Regions from separate parts of the Homo sapiens genome. Here all the other regions are linked to region 1. The links are contacts of gene promoters, found by promoter capture Hi-C in human tissues and cell types (Jung and others, 2019). All regions are on one chromosome and are shown on one strand. Each heading gives the region's core, a stretch centred on a gene start or on the middle of the fragment in contact. The rest is flanking DNA. Distances are from core to core; before and after follow the strand shown. Region 1 holds the start of PDGFC (platelet derived growth factor C). Region 2 has its middle 4.8 kb from the start of LINC02272. Region 3 has its middle 110 kb from the start of LINC02272.

Region 1 (4,544 bases), core at 1,266-3,765:
TGGTGCTGTGGCTCCTTTGATCACTTTCCCCCAGACCTCTGCAGCTACTGTGATTAGAGATACATCCCTAGGCTGCCCTTTGATCAGCAGCTCAAGGAGCCTGCAGGTGCCATGTGGCATCACATTAGCAAGTTGTAAGAAGCACCACACTAATATTAGCTGATAAATGTGATACTATGTCTTGCTGCGCAACAGCAAATACAAATAACGTTTGCAAAAGTCGGCAGAATCCTTATTTTATCTACTTTTATACCCTAAAACTTTCTGTGCTTTCTTAAACATGAACACTTCATAGAGTTTAAATTCAAAGTTGAAGTCTTGAAACACCCCAATATGAAAAGGAAAAAAAATCACTCTGACTTAAAACTATAGCACATCCTATCTTAATTTTGTAGGTATGCCACTTGTGTTCATTTTGCATGGTTAATCAAGTGACAGAATCCTTGCATTCTGAATAGATGATATACAAAGCAGTAAAAACATGTATATTCCTTTTCAAATTACAGTAAGAGCCACCATTTGTAAACAGGGCGTTAAATATTCCAATTTTAGACAGCCTAACATGAACATTGTGGTTTCATGTGCAGTATAAAATTTCTATTTACAAAGTATTCTCAAAAATGACTTCATAATGGTAGATGAAGAGAAAAAGAGTTTAGAAATTGAATGATGTAAATCATATGGGTTCAGAGGCTAAGCAAATTACACACCCTGAAGCTGCCCTGGCTTTATGAAAGGAGCCTTTCTCCAGCTCTGTGCAATCCCAGCCCAAGGGAACTTGCATCTGAGAGTTTTCTAAACATTTCAGGTACACTTGAAAGCTGAAAGTAATTCTCATTTCCTATGCAGGATTAAGTCGTTTCCAGCACACACAAAATAGCAGTCATTCACCAACACATACAAAAACACACCACCAGAAAGGTAAGGACTTCAGAGTACAAAGGCAAGTTTAAAAAACAAAAACTAGGGAGCAAGAGAAATACACTTTTTAATTCCTCTAAAAACGACCACACAGCCTCTTGACCTCTATATTTCCTATCTACTCATTGATTAATTGATGACTTCGACCTAGAGTGCTTCAATTAATGCGGCTGATATATTTCCTGACCGACCCCCCTCGCCCTCCCCAAATCTGAGTAAAGTCAAACATGCCAAGGCTCATTCATTTTGGATTCGTTTTTAGAGGCAGTTCTTGAACTTCTAACTTTAGCAATGAGCGAACCTGCAATGTGCATTTGAAATGACGTTCACAATCGCTCCCAGAATGTCCTCACTCAGCAGTGGCACTCACGTTGCCCTCTTGGAGCTTTGTGGCAGCTCCCGAAGTTGCAAACTACACTTAACCTTTAACAGTCCATGCCAATGAACGCAGCGCACATTTGCATGTAATGAGAGACCAAAGATACCTTCACAGTCTGGTATATATCACATACCAACGCACAATGCCAACGTTAACACACACAGCGAGAAACAAGCAGGGGGAGAATGGGGGAAAGACTCACCGTTCTGTTCCTTGTTGCTGGAAAACTGGAATTTACTACTCAGGTTGGATTCCGCCTGAGTCCCCTGTCTCTGGCCGGCCAGGGCAGATGTCAGCAGGAGAAGCCCGAAGAGGCTCATTTGGCTGACTGGGGTGAGAGCTCACTCACGGCGGGCACTTTGGAAGCAGCGACTCCCGAGTCTCTTTCACCACCGCCAGGGGAAGGCTGCACTGGGGTGGAAGCGCCGAGCCTGCTCTGGCAGCAGAGAATCGCAGGGTAGTTTCCACATAATCCCATCCAAAACTTTTTCCTAGAGCCCTCTTCTGTGTCTCCAGTTTTTGAAAAGGATCAAAGCAAAACCTGGACCTGAACCAGTTTCCCAAGGTTTAAACAAATCCTGAGCTGTGGCGAAGTGGTGGGGGTGGGGGTGAAGGCGAGGGAGGAATGAGGGGGTGGGGACGCGGGGGAGCGGCGAGAAGTCCCCAGCAAGTTGCTGGGAGCACCTGTCAGTTCGGGGGACAGGACAGAGGCGAAAACTCAAGGGTTGCCCGCAGCCAGACTGGAAGCCAAGTCGGCGGCGAGCAGTTTCTGATCAATAACAAAGCTGCCAATAGATGCGGCTCTCCGGGCGCCCCTCTCCCCCGCCCCACCCCCCACCCCCGAAGGGGGAGGGGGAAGAAACAAGGCGAGGGCGCCGCGGCGGGTCCCACGGGCCGGGGCGCCGGAGCGGGGCCGGGGGGCTCCGGGCCGACGGCGGCCCGGGCGCAGGCGGAGAGAGGCCGCGGGGCTCCCGCTCCTCAGCCCGGAGCGCAGTTGGCCCCGGGTTCGGAGCGCCGCAGCACGGATTCCGGCACCTGGCTTGAGTTTTCCGCGACCAAAGTTCACCTTGTTCGGGCTCGTCCCCCGCTCCTCAAAGCCTGGGGCAATTCGGCCGCTCGGGGTCACCGCGGGGCTCCGGTTGTTCCCCGTCCCCTCCCCCCACGCCTCGGGCTCCGCGCTAACCTCGGGGCTACGCGCGGCGTCTCCGCACGGGGTGAAGAGGGAAGGCCGGGGCGGCCGGGAGGATCCGGCTTGTCCCCTCCCCTTCTCTACCTTCCCCCCGCCGGGCGGCAGACAGGAGGTGGGGGCCGTGGGCCGAGCCCGGGCGGAGCGCGCGCCTGGCGAGCGGGGGCGGCTCAGCGGCTCTCCCGCAGGCGGCCGATGGGGCGGGCGGGGGTCAGCGCCTCTGGGAGGGGCAGCCCTGGGACGCGTCCGCGCGAGCGGGCTTGGCCGCCCACTGGCTGTCAACAGGTGCTGCGCAGACAGGGGGTGCTGCGGGACTCGCTGTGGGCAAGACCCCGGTGGCCCAGGAGAGGAACGCGGCCAAGGCGGCCCCTGCTTTCCCTTCCACGGAACACCTCTAACCCCAAATACAGAGCACGATGGGTGGTGAAGGGTGCTGCAGAAGTAAGTGGGAAAGAACTTCCTGCAGCTCTCCTTCTCCCGCCCCCTGTCGCCTGACTTGTCATTAGTTTCCAGGAGGGCTCCCCACTCCCTAAGGTCTTTGCTAGGACCCTTGGCCAGAGTTTCAGAACAGAAGGAAGAAGGGAAATGAATTCAAAGGCTTTCCTCCAATTTCCAGCTCCGTAAAGCAGGACAAATAAAGCAAAAGTAAAGGCAGCCAAAATAACATCCATTTAACAAGTACTATATTTACTGAATGCCTACTATGTCGGGCACTGTTTAGAGGTTGGAGCCGTAGCAGTGAAAACAGACAAAAGTCCCTGCCCTCGTGAAGCATACGTAGTAGTTGGGCAGCATTAAGCTAATAGCAAGCTCTTCTGAGAATGGTGTCTAAGGGACTCAGAATGATCCTGCAACCTTGGACTTTCCTACAATACAGCCTCTAACAAAACTAGGCTGCCCTGAACCCCTGGTGATAGAATTGTTTACATTTACACCAAAAAGGTCGAGAAAGAACTGAAATCTCTTGTGGCTTGTGTTCAGGCTGACTTGGAGAGAGAGGCCGATGCTTTAAGACCTAAAGTTCTCATGAGGTAGTCTGAAATGAAACACACATGCCAAGCAGGGCTTATGGTGGTTCCATGTCTGCTAAATATGTCTGTGACAGGATCCAACGTGCTTTCTTTGTGGAGAAGCAGAAAATCATTGTCAATGTGTTAAAGGCACAAGCAGAGAGTCAGAAAAGTTGAATTTTAAAATGAAGCTATTTTTGAGTAATAATCAAAATGAAAACAAGGAAGTGCCATGGCAGGCAAATCAGCAATATCACCCAACTTCTTGTGGAAAAAAAGTCAATGCAAACAATTCGACCATCAAGAACACTTGGGCTGGAACAGAAAACCAAAATAGCAATGTCCCTGAAACTAAGGAGTGGCATTTGGGCAAGAACATATTCTTACTGGACCAAACCAGGGGCTGATCCTTCTTCAGTGGTGAGGAAAATGCCAAGCCCTCTTCTTATATGCGAACACCAACTGGGGCCAACCAACCAGACCTTTCTGCTTGGAATATCCTAGTCTTCTTGTTTTTCCCTTTTAGAAACCTTTGAAAACTTCACCCATCTGTCTCATTCTTGAAAATTTCACCCGCCTGTCTCATTCATTCATTCTTATCCCTTTACCACTTCTATCTACAGAGTACTAAATATACACTAAAGGCAAATAAGGCCTGATCTTTGACTTTAAGGCATTTACAGTTTAGTGGACAGAAGGTTTTTTATCAAGTATGGTATTTTATTCGAGTTAGCAGCTCCACAACACCAGTGTGACTCCATATTTGCATAATGTGTTCCAAAAATATTTTGTAAATTTGTGAGGGTGAAGGGTTATTCCCAATTTTAATAACATAATGGGACTTAAATAAAGGGCATGCCTTATGAATCCATTGTAATCTATTTTTCATAAAATTCATTATTCTCCAGTTTTTCTAATTTTGTAAGTTTAGTTTTCTAATCAGCACTTTTCTAAATGAAATTGTTATATGTCCATATAGTTGAGTTTCCTGACCACCCACATAGAGGTGGGGTGTGTGTGTGTGTGTGTGTGTGTGTGTGTGTGTGTG
Region 2 (4,940 bases), core at 1,183-3,682, 320 kb before region 1:
TGCCGTTCACTCTTTCTTCACATCTCCTCTGCCTTCTCGCACCCCAAATCCAATAAGTGTCTCTACATTCTACCCTGGTCTCTTTTTTTATTTTATTATTATTATTATTTTTTGAGACGGAGTCTCGCTCTGTCGCCTAGGCTGGAGTGCAGTGGCGCGATCTAGGCTCACTGCAAGCTCCGCCTCCGGGGTTCCCACCGTTCTCCTGTCTCAGCCTCCAGAGTAGCTGGGACTACAGGCGCCCGCCACCACGCCTGGCTAAATTTTTTCTTTTTTTTTTTTTGTATTTTTAGTAGAGAGGGGGTTTCACCATTTCAGCCAGGATGGTCTCAATCTCCTGACCTCGTGATCTGCCCACCTCGGCCTCCCAAAGTGCTAGGATTACAGGCATGAGCCACCCCGCCCGGCCTTACCCTGGTCTCTTTAAATCTTCCCAATTCAATGACCTCTTAGAAATATGCTCCCTGACAATAATGTATGCTCCAAAATAAACTCCCTCTGATTCTTTTTATCTTTCCAATAATCTATACTCTTTGAATCTGAGCCAGCATGTAGCTAGAAATTTGGAATAAAATATCTATATTGGTAAACAGTGGTTTCTTTTTAAGTGGAAAAACCAGTGTTTTCTTTTTAAGCAAAAGGATAATTTATTGGCTGCTTTAATTAGGAAATCAAAGTAATTGTATAACCTTTAGTCACAACTAGATCCAGAATTGTGAAGAATGTCATTAAGAATCTCTCACTCCTCTGTTTTTCACTCAAATCATTTATTTTTAGCCACGTTCCATCCATGAACAATCAAAATAGCTCTGGAATGCTGTAGCTTTACGTGATACTTAGTATTTGCAATCTCAGAGGAATGGAGATCCTTTCTCCCCTGGTATACATATAATTTCCCCCAAAAATGCCTTGATTGGCTCTGCCTGGATTATATGGCAAAACTGGACAATCACCAAAGCCAGTGAGATGGGATCAGTGATTAGTTAGCAGAGATCAATTTCCATTTCTGTGGCAAGCAACTAGGTGTTGTGATTGAGAAACTACCATTTAGGAAAGGGGAAGCTCACAAAAGGAAAAGAAGGGCCATTTTCCGATGCCACCTCTGTGGACTGAATGACCTGTTCACTATATTAGAGATGTTTTCATTCCTTGAGAAAATTTGATACTACAATTATTTTCCATTGAGTGAGATTGCTGGTAATGTCACTGGGATATTGAAAAAATCATTTTACCAAAGGACCCTTCCAGAATCCCCTTAAGGATGGCTCATCTTCTTTTGCTTTTTATTTTATTTCCATGATGATTTAATTCCAAGGTTTGCTGCTCTCTGAAAATATAAGTGAATTTATCGCTTTTCAAAGAACACTTGAGAAACGAATCAAGAGTCAAAGAACCAAAATACACACATACTTCTCATCTGCATTGTAGTCATAGGGACAAATTTTCTGAGAAGTTGGTTTCCAGTTCATTTCTAAAGCATTGCTATAAAAAAATCATTCTCAGTAAATACATCATATCATTATTGTTGAAGTAAATCAAGGAAAAAGGAAAAGAAATATGGAGGGTACATATTATTTTTCCAAAATACAGTTCTTCAACTTCCATCTCATACCCCTGGTGAAAGATTATCTTTACTTATTATGTTATAAATTAGGCAGAATCTTGGAATTACCTCACACAAAACTACTCTGACAGCCTCTTTGAACCTGACATAGTTTAGACTATATTTATTCATTTGGAGCCTACCTCTTCTCTAAAGATAATGAATTCCTGACAAAGAGTCAGAGCTTTTAGATATTTGACATCAGGTAAAATCTTGCCCATTTTTTTCTAAATAACTATAAAATCTGGCATGAAATATTTAGGATCTTAGATTGTAATTTTTAAATAAATACTACCCATCAATAAATTTGTATGTTAAGCACATATGTTGAGCTTGGATTCAAGGATGCTGCGGGCTAAAGTATTAATAGTTTAAAGCTGGAGCATCATCAAATGATGCTGAGAATGATGTTCCACCATTACATAGCATTGGAATGCAGTATTAAGAATTTACTATGAGACAACATAGCTAAAACATTTCAACAGAACAGATGATCATATTTGTAACTTCAATTAATATCAAATGCCAAAACTTCTCAGTGCTTTGCAAATTCTGTGTACTGTTAAATTGTCCAATTATTATTTCAAAGCTGTGGTGACACTTCTCAGTCCATCCAGGCACACATCTCTCTCTATCTCTGTCTCCCTTTCCCTTCCTCTCTCACTTCAAACATACACACAGATGCATATATATGAAGTCTCTCTCTCACACACACACACAACTTGCAAATACAAAAATATATTCTTCCCATTATGGATTTTCATTGTACTTGGTGGAAAATCTCTTCAGACCATGTGAGACTTAAGACAGACTTTGATCTGGATGTTGATATCACATTGGTTCATAGACATCGGTTCAAAACTCTGTATGAAGCTTTCCACAATTATGTTGTAACCTTGGTATTCCATTCTCTGCATTGCCGTCCAAGTACTGAGGTAAAAGAATGCCATGGCAGTGTTCAGCCCTGGAATTTCCATTAAAAAATGTGACCATGTGCATGGTGTAGATGAAAGCAAGATGCCCTGAAAGCTTTTGTTAAGCAAGTTGAAATAAGGCAGGTTATAACTTTCAGAGTCACTGGGACATAGCCTTAAACAACGAAGCAAAAAAGTAGGTGGATGGAAACTACAGCAACTGCCGAGACAGCTCCACATAGCTTTAAGGGAACTTTTTATCTTTTTTGAACAAAGATGTCAGACTAGTCAGACTGTCTGGAAATCCCAAAAAGAAAAATTTCAGCATACTTTCCAGATGGTAGAGGAAAATATCAAATACAAACCCTATCATATGTTTCCCCATTTTGTTGTGGGGTGTCATGTTTTTACCTATACTCATGGATCTTAATACCAGTCATATTCACTTCTAAATTAAAGTGCAACAAGAAATAGTCAAAGGCAAATATGTGTATATATATATATGTAAATATATGTGTGTGTGTGTGTGTGTGTGTGTGCATGGATAGTGCATGTATATACACATATACATGATAATATCTAATACAGTAAAAAATATACAGGAATTGGATATTCTTTTGTGAATATTTTAGATGATAAAATGAAGCCCCATGAAGTATTAAATTTTGAAATAACTTAAAGAATGTAATTGGATTGTTTGTAACTCAAAAGATAAATGTTTAAGGGGATGGATACCCCATTCTTCATGATGTGCTTATTTCACATTGCATGCCTGTATCAAAACATCTCAGGTACCCCTTAAATAGATACACCTACTGTGTATCTACAACATTTTTTAAAAATTAATTTTCTTAAAAAAGGAATTTTCAAATGTTTATCTTTCTATAACCAAACTGTTAGTCACATTATCACATTTGAAATAATTTTTAATAGAGTTTAAAATATTGTTAATGATAGATTGATTATAAAACCTATTTAGATCTCTGGATATAATTTTCAATGTGCTTTTACATTTTCTACTGCTACTTATAATTATTTATCTTGCTGTAACATCAAAATTTTCATTACTGTCACTCTGTCTGCTCCCGGCCAAACTCCCTACACCTCCTTTCATTGGCCTTCCTGTTACTAGTTTGGATGATTAACAAAGTTGTCAAGCTTGTTAAAAGTGTCTTTTCCAAATTAAAATAATAAAACAAAACATCAAATTAGAAAATATCAGGATAGCTATCCCTAAGGCCATTTCACACAACTTTCCTACACACTGCCTAAGAAAGCCAGAAAAATGATAAAACCCAAACTGAAAACTAGGAAAGTCAATTCAGAAGAGATTCTATATACAACAAAGCAGATTGGATTAAATCAAAAAGTACAATTGATGGTCTAAGTGTGGAGAACCTGCCCACTGAAAGAAAAATGGAAAGACCTGGTAACTTCCTTTTCATCTCTGTCCACTGGGTCAGCTGCGCAAGATACATACCAACAAGAAAACCAGTTACCCCACTACTTAACAGATGGTGCATTCAATTGATCCAAAGCACCCTCTTTCTTAATCTAAATCTAATCCTACCTTCCACCCCAACACCTCAACACACACACACTCATACTTCTTTCATTCTTTTGGAAAATAAAGCCTAAAGAAAGAAAGTAAACAGGAAGAGAATACAATGTGTTTAAAAAAAAGATTGGAGTGATTTTATGACATTTTAGAAAATGTAACCCTCCAAGCTAAGATTTGTAGATGGTATGAAAATTCTCAATAAATTTTTAAGAAGTGGATGTAATTTTTATATATCCCATTGCTTTGCAATCTAATATTTATTCTAAAGATAAGATTTTATTCAGAATTGGGCTAGGAGTTGTGCATACTAATATCAGATAGTACAATGACTTAGTTGATTTAGTTGTGCTAGAAAAATCTATATGATATCAGTGAATTAAGGATGGGGCAGTCAACATGGCGTGTTTATAAGAAACACCAGACCTGCAGACATCTCTACTATTTCAAATAAGAATTAAAAAAAAAAGAAAGAAAACTAAAGGGTCTTAGAAAACATTGCAGAACAGGGAAAAGGAAAGCTCATTCTGTAGGCTAAATACTTGTGCAAGTCACCAAGCAGCCAGAATAATTGTTCAAAAAGTATGGCATTTGCAGAAAAACTCAAAAAGACTGAGAAGAATTTCATGTAAAACAAGTGCAAAAGCCTTTAAAAGATTCATATTTTAAAAGGTCCAAAGTTTTTAAAAGTGAGATAGATTGGCTAGAGGCATTACACTTTCTGATTTAAAAACATATTACAAACCTACAGTAATGAAACCAGTATGGTACTGATATAAAATAGATATATGGACTAATGGAACAGAATAAAGTCTAGAAATAAACCTATGCATGTGTGATCAACTGATTGCTCACAAGGGTGGCA
Region 3 (4,503 bases), core at 772-3,271, 440 kb before region 1:
TATGGTTAAGTAATGTGGGGAAAGAATGTGTTGAAATCATCTAAAACCAGTGTATTTACTGTATAATTTCTCAGACCTTTGAGTATGCTAATGTGCATTGTAACTCACAACAAAATATATCGAATGCAGAATGTAGCATTTCATCAACTTATTTGACTTTGAAACTCTTTATTCAAGTTCTACAAGTACTATTTCTGAGAAATATATTTTGGGGAAAAAATAGGCTAGACAAGCACTTAGGAAGTTGATGAATTCTAAGAGCAAACATGGCTTCACTAAGAAGTCATTTCAGTTAAGCCATTTCCAGTTTTAAATTACTGAACTGTTGTGCCTAGGAGTAGCAGAAAGCATATCTGAGTTTCAGGAAAGTATTTCTTCATGACAGCAGGAAATGTGGGCTAGATGACAGTTTAATTATTTGCCATCACATCAGGTGAAATGAATTAATGCAAATTAATGAATTCATTATTATTTATGAATGTCCAGTTTGTGGACTGACCTTGTAATCCACAGTCTTCGTGAGAAGACAGATGAATTATCACTAAATCTGCAGGAAACAGGAAGAGACAGCTGATATACCAATTCAGTTGTAAACAACTTTTTCTGTAAATGACAAGAGAGTACATATCTTAAGTTTTGTGGGCCATACAGTCTTTGTCATAAGTACTTCCCTGTTACAGCAGAAACGCAACCATAGACAGTTTATAAACAAATGAGCATGATTGTGTTACAATGAAACTTTGTTTACAGAACACGCAGTGAACTGGATTTGGCCCACAGGCCATAGTTTTCTAACCCTTTTATTAGTTGTCAGAGATGGACAAAAAGAATCAGTGGTCTGGCACAATTGACTAGATCAATGAAAATGAAATTTAACAGATTTAACATTTTTGCATTTCAAGCCAATAATTCAACTTCATAAGTATTAGAAAAAGATGGATGGCTTAATAGTACAGTTTAACATAATTGGAAGCTCAATATTCCTCTATTTAATGTGTCTCCCAAGGAAGACAGTGCTCCATCTGTAGCACCAGAGAAGCACCAAATAAAACATTGCCTGGGTCAAACTATACTGGGAGTGTTGGATCAAATTCTAGATCATCCATTTGAAAAGTGCTTTGCAAACAGGAGAGCATACACAAGAGAATGGTTGTTTTCCTGAGACAGTAAGGCATGTTATAAGATAAATTGTTTTAAAGAAAGGGACAATTTAATCTGGAGAATGGAAGACTTCAGTGTACCATACCTCTGTCTTCAGACATGCTAATCCAGATGGATTAGATTCCTCCTCAGTTTTTCCTGAAGTCAAACTGGGAATCATTAAATGTTGAAAAAGTAGGGCAAAATTTAGATTCAACAAAAGAAAGAAATTTTTAAACAAATGTAGCTGTCCCCCAATGAAATAGATAGATGTATTTTCCCTATGGAGGTGTATTTGTCTGTTCGTGCACTGCTTTAAAGACATACACAACACTGGGTAATTTATCAAGAAAAGAGGTTTAATTGACTCATGGTTCCACATGGCTGGGAAGCCCTTTAGAAACTTACAATTATGGCAGAATGCGCGAGAAAATAAGTTTGTGTCAGTGCAGGAAAAACTACCATTTATAAAACCATCATATCTCATGAGAATTCACTCAATATGATGATAACAGCATGGGGGCACCCACCCCCATAATCCAATCACTTCCCAGGTCTCTCCATAAATACCTGGGGATTACAATTCAAGATGAGATTTGGGTGGGGAAACAAGCCCTAACCATATCAGGAGGAAACCTTCAGGTATTGATGAAGTCTCTCTGACTACTTGGGGAGACATTACAGAATGATTCAATTACTAACTAGGAGATGGGTGCTAATAGTTTATTTTCAACTCTAAAAATCTCTAACTTTATCAGTGTTGAAGTTCAAGTCATCAACTCTCTTAATCATGCAATTTTTAAGCTAAGTTTTTAAACTACCATTTTTTAAACTAAGTTTTAATTTCTAGACTGAATGTCAATAAATTCCTTTGCTAATTCGAATTAGAATTTTACCTCTATTACTTGTCTTGCACTTGTTAACTTTTTAGCACAATGTCTACTCAGGTTTAAAATAAAATGTTTGTGATGGAGCATAATAAAGTATTGGACATTAATATTGGTATTTATAATGGTTAACAGTAACTGTGATTGATTAAGGACAACAGCATGCCCTTGGTTTCTGTCTTTGGTTTTAGTATTTACAATGCAATATGACTTTTTAAAAAGCAAGCTATGCAGAAAATGTGTAAATTTTTGATGTGTAATGTGTAAATGATGAGAAACTGCTATCTCACCATCAAGTTGCAATCGAGCTAAGCTACAAATAGCAACATTGATTATAATAAGACTTTGAACTGACCTTGTTCTGCAGATAGATTTTGCATCAGTGTTCTTTGCAGTGTTTACTGGTATATCTGAAACATTTATTCTTGTAATTTGACAATTTGTGCACGTTGAATTAATAATTAAATCGACATGATTAATTCAACATGCACAAATCTTCAAATTAGAAGAAATGTTGAAATTAATGTTGAAATTATTATTGTGTGATATCTGTACAAGTTAGCTACCTGTGGTTAGTATTCTTACAATTTCTCTCTCCCTCAGCCCTATCATTGGTTTCTGTTCTTATCTCACTGAAAAGTACTACGAAGTTTAGCGAGTATTTACTTTCAGGACTTATCAATTTAAATTACAAATTAGTTTTAACTTGTGAATTCAAAGATATGAGAGTTGAAAAAACTTCACAGAAAAAGAAAATCCTTGGAAAAGACTATAAAATACAGAGAAGAAATATGTTATCTTAAAAGGAAGAGGGAAGAGTGTTATTTTTAAGTTGAAATAGTATTTTTCCCTGAATCTGCAACTGAGGAACTATCCCATTAGAGGAAGTTTACAGAGTAAAACTTTTTTCTCCTCTAGACAAAAGTCAGTCTATGATAAGAAGATATCAGAATTAATTTGTATACTTCTTAGCTGTTTTCATTAAAACTGAACATGGCCTATAACTGGAATGGAGGGAATTGTCTCTTTTAATTGGCTGAATGATTCTTTATTCTCTTACGCAGGTGTCAGCCTGTGGCAGGGGGCACATTCAGTGACATAGTGTTGAGTATAGAAATGGTATTATCTTGCTGTCCAAAGGAAAGTTCAGGAAAAAACATCACAAAATTAAAAATAGAAAATATGGTTACGTTATTTTTATCTACCTTCTCTTTAATCACTGAGAAATAAAATTGTTTAAAACAATACTGAAAACATCTTGGATAATGTGAGGAATACATGAAGATATGAATGTTCTTTGCATGAATATTGTCGGCTGTGACAGCTCATTCCACTTCTGGATTATAACGTGCTTCTTTAGGTCTTAGTATTATTGGTTTGTTTTAAATTTTATCATCTGGCTGCACTGTATACAACTTACTCAAAGGAATCTTTTCATATTTTAGTATTGTATATCATTTAAAAACATGATAAAAATGTTTTCAATACAATTTTTATTTCCAAGATAGTGTCAGAAAAGTATATTTAGTATAAGTAAATATTATGCTCCATTAAAAACAGTTAAGCTTTTAATAAACTTGCCTAGTAAAATTCTTTATCACCATTTTCTTATTGAAAACTGGTTTTTGGAGGATGTTGTTCCGATAGATATTAATAAAGATGCCTTTATATCAAAGTGTTCCATGGCCATCTTCTTGAAAATTTACGTTATTAGATTCCAGGAAGCCCTATATGTTTAACTTTATTTTTTCCCATAATTTCTGGGCTTATTTTAGGGATAAACATTATTTAACGGTCTTCAGTTTAGAAAAGCTAAAATAAAAGCTCTTTTTCTGTAACAAACTGAATTCATTTACTGAGATATTCTGTCTAAATCAGGATAAGCAATGCTAGCTGTTCTAATAAAGAACCCTAAAATTACAGTGGTTTAGTATGGGAAATGTTTATTTCTCGTTAGCACAAAATCCAAAGTCAATGAGCTTCATCCACTGTTTCTTGTAGGTGGCTCTTCTCCAAACAGTGTATCAGAGATTTGATATCCTTCTATCTCCAACTTCTTAGATTCTTTGCTTAAGAACCCAATCAACTAGAGAAAAAGCATGGCAAATTGCATAGGATGATCTTTGCTTAAGAACCCAGCAAACTAGAGAAAAAGCATGGGAGATTATATAGGATGTTTCATGTCTGGGCATGGAAATGCAGGAGTATGTCACTTTTCCTCATGTTACATGGACCAAAACTTAATCACATTGATCTATTTAGATACAGGGAAGACTATAAAATATAGACTACTGTGACTTAAGGAGTAGAAGAGAAATGGATATTTGTAAATATTGACAAAAATTGTTTATGCTGATTTTGTAAATTATGGTTCAATCAATATTTAAAGTGTAAATGTTGTCTTTGGAAAGTGTAAGAGTATCAAACCATTTGTAACTCAAAGGTCAAGAAGAAATTATTTTTAGATCTTATATAT

The links. The method cuts DNA at HindIII sites, captures the fragments that hold promoters and counts their contacts. A contact is called where the count stands out against the background at its distance.
Region 2: a contact is called between a fragment that was not itself captured here and the fragment with the promoter of PDGFC in region 1, in 1 of the 25 tissues and cell types used here (heart right ventricle).
Region 3: a fragment that was not itself captured here is called in contact with the fragment with the promoter of PDGFC in region 1 in 1 of the 25 tissues and cell types used here (dorsolateral prefrontal cortex).

The regions. Positions count from the first base shown.
Region 1 is chr4:156,969,284-156,973,827 of GRCh38, forward strand. PDGFC (platelet derived growth factor C) reads right to left here and starts at 2,516. Exons shown (of 6, transcript NM_016205.3): 1 at 1,503-2,516. The coding sequence starts at 1,620. RefSeq lists an enhancer at 2,303-2,803. The HindIII fragment of the contact is 11,394 bases long and covers 1-4,544 here.
Region 2 is chr4:156,644,818-156,649,757 of GRCh38, forward strand. No RefSeq gene overlaps it. Among named protein-coding and RNA genes, the nearest start is that of LINC02272, 4.8 kb to the left of the region's middle. The HindIII fragment of the contact is 3,791 bases long and covers 538-4,328 here.
Region 3 is chr4:156,527,756-156,532,258 of GRCh38, forward strand. No RefSeq gene overlaps it. Among named protein-coding and RNA genes, the nearest start is that of LINC02272, 110 kb to the right of the region's middle. The HindIII fragment of the contact is 4,616 bases long and covers 1-4,329 here.